Linked DNA regions of Homo sapiens: regions 2 and 3 are each linked to region 1. Evidence: promoter capture Hi-C in human tissues and cell types (Jung and others, 2019). All regions are on one chromosome and are shown on one strand. The core of a region is centred on a gene start or on the middle of the fragment in contact, and the rest is flanking DNA. Distances in the headings are between cores, read along the strand shown.

What was found. Contacts are between HindIII fragments. The study calls those that stand out against the background at their distance.
Region 2: a contact is called between a fragment that was not itself captured here and the fragment with the promoter of CACNA1B in region 1, in 1 of the 25 tissues and cell types used here (dorsolateral prefrontal cortex).
Region 3: a contact is called between a fragment that was not itself captured here and the fragment with the promoter of CACNA1B in region 1, in 2 of the 25 tissues and cell types used here (H1 embryonic stem cells and dorsolateral prefrontal cortex).

Annotation. Positions count from the first base shown.
Region 1 is chr9:137,876,034-137,879,198 of GRCh38, reverse strand. CACNA1B (calcium voltage-gated channel subunit alpha1 B) reads right to left here and starts at 1,417. Exons shown (of 47, transcript NM_000718.4): 1 at 982-1,417; 2 at 40-145. The coding sequence starts at 1,265. The region is part of intron 2 of CACNA1B-AS2 (CACNA1B antisense RNA 2); the gene reads left to right. RefSeq lists an enhancer at 309-1,224. The HindIII fragment of the contact is 23,600 bases long and covers 1-3,165 here.
Region 2 is chr9:137,627,538-137,630,702 of GRCh38, reverse strand. All of the region lies in intron 1 of EHMT1 (euchromatic histone lysine methyltransferase 1), which reads right to left. Among named protein-coding and RNA genes, the nearest start is that of EHMT1, 10 kb to the right of the region's middle. RefSeq lists an enhancer at 2,081-2,140. The HindIII fragment of the contact is 8,247 bases long and covers 1-3,165 here.
Region 3 is chr9:138,080,605-138,083,769 of GRCh38, reverse strand. The region is part of intron 36 of CACNA1B (calcium voltage-gated channel subunit alpha1 B); the gene reads right to left. Among named protein-coding and RNA genes, the nearest start is that of FAM157B, 130 kb to the left of the region's middle. The HindIII fragment of the contact is 7,824 bases long and covers 1-3,165 here.

The DNA.
Region 1 (3,165 bases), core at 168-2,667:
TCCCCACCACCCTGCCCTCAGGCCCAGCCGGGCACTCACCAGCCGCTCGGACATGGGCGTTTTGTCCCCATCAGGGAGGTGCTGCTCCAGGGCCAGCACGATGCAGTTGGCGATGATGGTGGCCAGGATCATATACTCGAATGGAGTGCGTGAGTTAAGGACTGGCCGGCAGACGCCGCACGGAGGGAAACACGAGGCCGACGCCAGCAGAGCCCAGTGCAGCAGCCACCGCTAGGCCGTCTCCGGAGGGGCTGAGACAACTGGGTCCGGAGCCCCTCTCCTGGCGGAAGCGGCCTGGTCTCCCTCACTCCCTGCCCCCATCCCTAGGGGCGGCCGCGAGGCGGGGCCTCCGCAGTCTGGGCCGCCAGCCCCTCGGCACACCCGGGCGGCCGTCAGCACCGCGGACAGCGCCTCCGGCCCGGCTCCGCCCGACTCCAGGGCCCCGAGGGGAGGGGGCCGAGCGCCCCCAGGCGAGGCTGGAGGGAGACCCCGCGCAGGCGCACGCTGCTCCCTCCAGACACGCAGCCACATGTACCTACACAGGCACGTGAACATGCATGTAGCCCGCATCGCGAGCGCACGCACGCGCAGCGCCAGGCTCCAGCTCAGCCCGCACACGCAGGCACCTGCAGCCAGGCGCGCGCACGGCCGCGTCCCCACAGCGCTCGCACCTGCACGGACGCGGCTTCGCCCTCGGTGCCCTCCAGGCTAGCCGCGCACTGTGCACCGACCAGGATCCCCAGGACCCGGCGTGCGGAGGGACGAGTCCGGAGCAGAGGGGCTCCGCCCCGCGCCCGCCGCACTCACGGAAATGCTCCCGCACCCGCCGCTCCGAGGGGCCCTGGGGCGCTCCGTACCCCCCTCGCCCGTCTCCCGACGCCTCCCCAGGTCGCGCCCTCCCGGCCACCGGGAAGATGGCCCCGGCCCCGGCCCCCACCCCGGTCCCCGCCCGGCCCCGCCCGGCCCCGCCCGGCAGGATATGGCCACTCGGTGATGCGCTTCGCGTATTTGCGGACGACGTTGTCCTCGCTGAAGACGAAGAGCGAGCGGTTGACGGTGAAGCAGTTCTGCTTGACCGGGATGGGGTTGTACAGCGCCATGGTCCGCGCGCGCTGCGCGATCGATTGCTTGTAGAGGACCCGCTGGCCGGGCTGCAGCCCCCCGGGACCCGGGCCCCCCGCCCCGCCGGCCCCGCCGCCCCGGGCCCGCTCTCCGCCGCCGGGGCCCCCATAGCGGCCGCCCAGCTCGTCCCCGAAGCGGACCATGGCTCCCGGGCCCCGCGTGCATCCCCGGCCCAGCGGCCCCGGCAGGGAGGGCGCGGGGCGCGCCAGGCGCTCAGAGCGGAGCAGCCACGGAGCCGCCGGGACCGCAGCGGACCTCGCCCGGCCCCACCGCCGCAGCCGCCGCCGCCTCACCCGACTCCGCGGCCCCGCGCCACGCCCTATAAGGGGCCGGTCACGTGGCGGGGCCCGGCCAATCCGCGCCGGCCCCGCCCACCCTGCCGCGCCGGCCCCGCCCCGCGGCCGCCCCCGCCCCGCCCCGGCCCCTCCGGCTGCGCCTCCCTCGCCCCGCGCCTCCCACCCCGGGGCTGGGCCGGGCCCAGGAGCGGACGAGCCTGTGGGTCCTCGACGGCCGCTCAGCGCCAGCCCGGGCCGTCCCCGGAGCCCACTCTGCCGGCCGCACCGCCCCTGGGTGCCCTCGGCTCCTCAAACTCGGCCCAGACGGACCCCTCGCTCCGCCCGGAGGCGCCACCAGCCCTGGGGCTGCAGCCCAGAGCTGGGCGCCAGGCCTGGGCCGGCCCGCCCCGTCCCCGCCGGGTCCCCGGCCTTCCCAACCCTCCGGGTGCGCTCGGCTCGCGGCCTTGGTGCCACGCGGACGCTTCTGTCGGGGGCCCCCAGCCCGGGTGCGGGACCTGCTGTTTCCACGCACGGGGCTGGCTCCGGGATCTCAGCTCAGAGAAGCCTCTGACCGCCTTGCAGGCCACGCCCCGTTAGGGAACCTGTCACGGTCACTGCCATTCCCCAGGCCTCCTTGAGCGCCCACCGCGGGCCGGGCCTGTCCTGGGCTCCCAGCTCTGCCCTCACGGAGCTGACCGTTTTGTACAAAGCACAGCAACCATTTACACAGCGCTCACTTCGTGCAGGCCCGTGGGTCCTCACAACCTCCAAAAAGGCGGCCCCGGGGTCGGGGAGACCTTCGGGAACAAGGGACCCTCTCGGACCTGAAGCTCGCTCGCAAGGCGCTGAGTGCAGAGTGAGGCCGGGTGCGGGCTGCGCCTTCTGAGAGGGAGGCAGTCCGCACAGTTCCGAGCAGAGGCGCGTAGGCCTCTGAAGGGTCCCTCGGGCTGCCGTGTGGAGTGTGGACTGCAGGAGGCTGGGGTGCTGAATCACTTAGGATGCATTCAGAGGCGAACAACCCGCTTCCCAGCTAGCAGCAGCTTGCACGATGCCATTGTGATCTCACTGAATACGAAGCCACCATCTCTCCTCCCTCCAAAATCCCCACATACACTTTCTGCCTTCCTGCCTGTTGCCTCATGCCCCAGGGTGGCTGTCATAGCACAGGGCATCACACCGCTACACCAGCATCTCAAACGGGAAGGAAGTGGCAGGTGTACAAAGGATGACCACTTTGTGAATCAGGTTACGATTTTCTTTTCTAACAAAGGAAAAGCTTCTCAGAGGCTCCCCCTGCAAGTGTCTCTTTAACCCCGTTAGGCCATGGGCCATGTGGCCGGCCCTGACTTTAACAGGGTGGGAAAGTGAACATGTGTCAAAGTGGACCAGGATGGCCAGCCCCCACTAGGCGAGCACATAGTTGCCCCAAACAAAATCAGGGTTCGCTTAGCTGGGAAGCAGGTGCTAAGGCTGTCGGGGAGGCTGCCAACTGGCCTGTCACAGAGAAAAATCAGAGCCCAGGGAGGGGTTTTGACAGCAGCACAGAGAGAGATGATGTGGTTTGAACATGGGGGCCATGAGCAGTGCCTCTTTCTCTTAGAGAGAGTGCGTCCAGTGTAAATGTGAAGGAGAGATAGAAACACAGGCTCTTCATTTTTGGTCTGAGTGACTGAGTCGAGGGGGATGCCCTTTGCCGAGATGGGGAAGACAGAGGGAAGAGCTTGTTAGTCACAGGGTGGAAATTAAGAATTGCCTACTGGGGACAGAA
Region 2 (3,165 bases), core at 276-2,775, 250 kb after region 1:
AAGATACGAATGCACGTCAGACAATACGGGACAGAGGAAGTACAACGGCACATAATCACTGATTACCACCAATTTTAAATAAAAACACATACACTCACGAGGATCAGGAAAAAAACAGATGACAAATATATGGCATCCTGAGGTTTCTAGGTTTGATTTCTAAATTTGCTAAAATGCCTAATTTTTGTTAATGTACACTTTGTCCACCTTCTCATGCCAATTCATGTCTCACATCCTTTAAGACCTAGACTATGTGTTGGACAAGAAGCTGTTAAAGGAAAAAAAAGACCTAGACTAACTCATCTTCCTCAAGGAACTTTTCCCCACACATGTGGCCGCAGCAATTGTGGCCATCCAGCAGCCTCTTCTTGTTTACTTTTAACTGACTCTCATTTCCTACTCAGTAATATTTGCTCTGTTCTATTATTAAATTTTGTAACATCAGGGATCAATCTCAAAACTTTGTATGTCCTCTTACAAATACCTAGAATTGCACTGCATAAACAGAAAGTGCTCAAAACAGCATCTTAAATATACTGTGATCAGAACCAGCCTATTACAACTAGAATACAGAAAGAAATCCACAAGCTTTTCCAGAATGAAACAGCAGCTCACAGTGATGTTCCTGGGAAAGTGGCCTCTTATCCAAGAGACTCCATTTCAAAGGAAATGCTACCTCTGAAGAGTTATAGCAGCCACTTTAGCTTTGTTTTTCAAAATCCAAAATCATCAGATTTTTTTTTAATACATGAAAATATTAAAAGTTAAAGAGAAGCAAAACAGTAAGAAAGGAGAATTCTCAGTCCTGGAAGTAATGCTTTCTATATCATACCTGCCATAGGCCAAATTAACTGGGCTCTAATAACTATTCTCAGCCGGGTGCGGTGGCTCATGCCTATAATCCCAGCACTTTGGGAGGCCGAGGTGGGCGGATCACCTGAGGTCAGGAGTTCGAGACCAGCCTGGCTAACATGGTGAAACCCCGTTTCTACTAAAAATACAAAAAACTGGACCAGGTGCGATGGCTCATGCCTGTAACCTCAGCACTTTGGGAGGCAGAGGCGGGCAGATCACGAGGTCAGGAGAGCGAGACCATCCTGGCTAACACAGTGAAACCCTGTCTCTACTAAAAATACAAAAAATTAGCTAGGCATGGTGGTGGGCGCCTGTAGTCCCAGCTACTTGGGAGACTGAGGCAGAAGAATGGCGAGAACCCAGGAGGCGGAGCTTGCAGTGAGCCGAGATCACGCCACTGCACTCCAGCCTGGGCAACAGAGCGAGACTCCATTTAACAACAACAACAAAAAAACTGGCCAGGTGTGGTGGCTCACGCCGGTAATCCCAACACTTTGGGAGGCCGAGGCAGGCAGATCACCTGAGGTCACGAGTTTGAGACCAGCCTGACGAACATAGAGAAATCCCATCTCTACTAAAAATACAAAATTAGCCAGGCATGGTGGTGGGCGCCTGTAATCCCAGCTACTCGGGAGGCTGAGGCTGGAGAATCGCTTGAACCTGGGAGGCGGAGGTTCCAGTGAGCCAAGATTGCACCACTGCACTCCAGCCTGGGCAACGAGAGCGAAACTCCATCTCAAAAAAAAAAAAAAAATACAAAAGCAAATAACTATTCCCTACCTGGTTTGCTGAGTGAGCAACTTAAAATCAAACTGCCCACTTACCTTAGGATAAAGTAATCCATCAACCATGCTTAATCCAATGAAATGATTGAAAAAAAAAATAAAGTTCCTAAAGAATCCAAAACATGATTCTTATAAGCCAAATTATTTTCAAAGAAAAACTCAATAAAATGTGGTCAAACCTACACAGCTCTTTCAGCACATGACAGGAAGCAGAAGAAGGAAACCAGGGCTCTAGCCCCACCTCTGGCTCTGGCCACGTGTGGGATCTCCAGCAACTAAGGTAGCCACAGACGCTCTTTTCGACATTAGAGCTGAGGCACAAACATCACCCTTGCTGGCCCTTACTATGACTCCAGAACCTTCCGACCACAACCAACAACTGACATAGTAAGATCCGAAGACAGGCAGCCCTTTTCATAGGACAGCTGTGCTTCTAGTTTACGGAAGAATCTGCTTCTCAAGATTTATGGAAAATGCTTCTCAGGCCAGCCACAGCAGTTCACGCCTGTGATCCTAACACTTTCAGAGGCCAAAGCGGGAGAATCGCCTGAGCCCAGTTGGAGATCGGCCTGGGCAACACAGTGAGACTCCATCTCTACAAAATGTTTTATAAATTATATTGTGTAATTAAAAATTAAATGTTTAAGTAATTTTAAAAAAAGAAAAATTGATTCTGATCCTCTCTTCTCTTAGCAAAAATCAATCAAAGACAAGAAAAGCAGGAAAGAGACACATAAACCCCAAGACATGTGAAATCCCTAAATAGAACACAAATAGGAAGACAGAGAGGTAGAGGAGAGCTAACCTATCCCACAGAGTAGAGGAAGGAGAAACTTAAATAAAGGAGTTGCAGCTGAGCAGCTGGCAGACTGACCCCAGAAAACACAGAAGGGTGGGGACAATGGGGGTGATGCCTGCAACTACAAAGGGGAATGCGGGCAAAACTCCACCTGAGAACAGCTGACCTCTCAGGTCTCCTCCTCAAGCAAGTACTGGTCTTCTGTAGCCACAAGACACCAGACGTTTAGCCCCATAAAAAGGTCCACCAAAAATGGCCGGGCATGGTGGCTCACACCTGTAATCCCATTATTTTGGGAGACCCAGGAGGGTGGATCACTTGAGGTCAGAAGTTCAAGACCAGCCTGGCCAACATGGCGAAACTCCCTCTCTACTAAAAATACAAAAAGTAGCCACACGTGGTGGTGCACAACTATAATCCCAGCTACTTGGGGGTGGGGGGGTAATGAGGCAGGAGAATTGCTTGAACCCAGGAGGCAGAGGTTGCAGTGAGCCGAGATCACACCACTGCACTCCAGCCTGGGCGACAAGACCAAGACTCTGTCTCAAAAAAAAAAAAAAATCCAGCTTATACCAGCAAGGCAAGAAATTGAGGGATCCTTCAAGAAAACCAAACCAGCAGACAGAACCTCTGCAAAAGGGCCGGGCGCGGCGGCTCACGCCTGTCATCCCAGCATTTTGGGAGGCTGAGGTGGGCAAATCACGGGCGCAGCGGCTCACGCCTGTC
Region 3 (3,165 bases), core at 263-2,762, 200 kb before region 1:
CTGTCTCAGCAGCTCAGACTCCAGGGGGCAAGTCTAGCTCCAGGAAAGCAGGGCAATAGAGCTATTTGGCCTATGGGGCTGGGTGTCTCAGCTGAGCCAATGCTCTATTTATCTGGGATGGCAGGGTACCATGTCAGTTCAGCCCTGGGATGCACAGCCCTCAGTTCATCCAGGGCACTGATTCCCAGGGGTGGGGGGTGGGGACAATGTGCCACTTCAGCTCAGGCTTGGGGGATGTGACTGCTCTGGGTGGCCAACGCACCATTTCCTGGGATGCAGGGAACTGCTTCAACTTAAGACACTGGGGAGGTGTGACCGCTCTGAGTGGCCAAGGTACTGTTTTCCCAGGAGGCAGGGTACCACTTCAGCTCTGGCCTATGGGCATGGAGGGGAAGGGTAGGTGAAGCAGCTCCACCTCCACGTGGCCCCTCAGGGAAGGGTGTAACAGCTGCTTGCAGCTCAGCTTGGGGATGTCGGCCACCAGTCTTGGTTAGTTTGATGGCAGTTTTGCCTCAAGGATAAAGGGAAGCTGCGGCTACTCCAGGAGCAAGTCACACTCCCGCTCTAGTTCCAACTCCTAGGTAGTGGAACACAGTAGCCACGTGGGCCACAGGGGCTGAGCAGTGTTGGCTTTGTCTCTGGAGGGAGCACAGGTGTGTGGACCCCAGGCAGCTCCCTCAGCTAGGCTTAGTGCCTTGAGGACTGCAGGGGACCCGAGTGGTAGGGTCTGCAGGTGTCCGAGATGGTGATGGGGGCTGCTGGGATCCTCTTGCTTACCTCCTCACCAAAGGGAAAAGCTCTCCTAGGTCCCAGCTGATCCTAGTTGTGGGATGGGGTGGTGGTGTTTGCTTGGTGTTTCATTCCATTCTCTAAGTGGCCATCCCAAGTTTCTGTGCTCACCAGTGTCTCTGTTACACCTCTGATGTACTCCGAGACTCTCCCTCAGTTATTTTCATTAAAATGTAATTTTTTGTTCATTGTTCTGTCTTTTTGAGAAGGACAAGCACTAGGTGGAAGGTCAGCCATCTTGCTGACGTTACCTCTCATTTCTTAATTGGGTTGTTTTATTTTTGTTGTTGAGTTGTAGAAGTTCTTTATACATTTTGTTAAATCAAGTTTAGCCTAAAGCTGCCTCCTTATATATTTTAAGTTCAGCCTAGAGGCTTCTCTGTACCTAGTGAACTATAACCTAAATGGAAGTGTAAACAGACTTTGTAACCTATTATCACGCCAATCATCAAGTTTTGGCCAATCAAAGGGAGCTAACTGTTCTGTGTTCAAATAAGGCAAACGCTAAGCTGTAACCAATCAACTGTTTCTGTACCTCACTTCCATTTTCTGTACATCATATTCCTTTTTCTGTCCGTAAATCCTCTTCTGCCATGTGGCTGTGTTGGAGTCTCTGAGCCTACTCAGACTCAGGAGGCTGCACAACTTGCGAATCATTCTTTGCTCAATTAAACTCTGTTAAATTTAATTTGGCTAAAGATTTTCTTTCAACAATTCTGATATTAACCCTTTATCAGAAATGTAATTTACAAATATTTTCTCCAATTCCTTGAGTTGCCTTTTCATTCTGTTGATAGTGTCCTTTGATTCTAAAAAGTTTTTAATTTTGAGTAGACAAATTTATTTTTTCTTTTATTGTGATTCTGGTGTCAAATCTAAGACTCTGTTACTAAGTAAAACGTCATAAAGATTTACCCACTATGTTTTCTTCTAAGAGCTTTATAGTTATAGCTCTTACATTTAGTTATTTAATTTTATGTTAATCTTTGTATATGGTATAAGGTAGGAGTCCAACTCCACTCTTTTGTATGTGGATGTCCCGTTTTCCCAGCAAAGAGTGTCCCTTTGCCATTATATGGTTTTGGGCTTCTCTTTATTGGGAAGTTTTCGATTACTGATTCAATCTTCTTACTCGTTACAGGTCTATTCATATTTTCTACTTAATTCAGTCAGTTATGATAATTTGTGTCTTTCTAGGAATTTGTCCATTTCAAAAGCTTAGGTTCTAAACTCAGGCTAAGATATTTAACATCTCTAGACCTCCATTTCTTCATTGTAATAATAATAATACCAATCTCAGGACTGTCACAGAGACTAAAATACTTAATGTATTCATAAGACCCTGCATAGTGCCTGACTCAGTGATTATCAGCAGGCTGTCATGAACAACCTCATTCCCTATTCTTCCATCAGCACCCTCTATTCCAATTAATGGAACCAAATCCCAACCTAACGAAGTCCTGCCACCCATCCCAAATTCACAGTCCCATTTTTTCCATGTCACTTCTCTATCAGACCAAACCACATCCAAGTGTTTCAAAGCATGAGTTGCCCAGCATGTCCAATCTGTGAGGGAAGTGCCAGAAGGATTAGGATTACAGTTTCAGTAAGGAGACACCAGGGTTAGCCAAGAACCATGACTGAGGTCCATGGGGACAAGAACAAAGGACAGTGGCCACGAAATACCCTCTTCTCTGCACAGGAGTGATAGCTAAACCCAAGGATTCCTCGACTCATCCTGGACATGTCTAGTGAGTGCTGGCCCTGTACGTGGTGTGGTATCATGAATGTGGCTTTCTGTGGAACCCCATCTCTGCGGCCAGGTGCATGGTAAGGTCAGGCTAGTAGGTTTGGCTTTGTGCCCACAGGTGTGCTGGTTCTTACAGCACCAGATGTCTTTGAACAGTATAGAGACCAATGCCTCAGGAAAGTGATTCTCCAAAAAGCCCACCCTCCCTGCTGCCCACAAGGGGTCTTCGGAGGGATCAGGAGATGACTCAAACATGGAAATCCTTCCCTTGGTTTCTAGCAAGTAGTGAAACACAGTTTTGTAGGTTCTTCTGTATTTCTCTATCTAAGTGTAAGCTCACCTGTCTCAAGTGCACATCATTCCCAACCACCTCAACCTCCTACTGCACCCTGCAAAGCTCACAGTCCGCCATCAGCACAAGTCCTTATATCTCCATCTCCCCTGAGTGCTCTCCACTTGTTCTTGCTCTGGCTCAAACATCTAAGAGGATGGATGTCCCCTCTGGTCTCTTCTTTAAAAACCTGTTCTCTGGGGCTCACATCATCTATTAAGTTTCCCCTTCCTTCATGAAAAACTTAGCACCTGGCTTGCTGTTTTTGTCTCCACTTCTATTCTTGTTATCATTC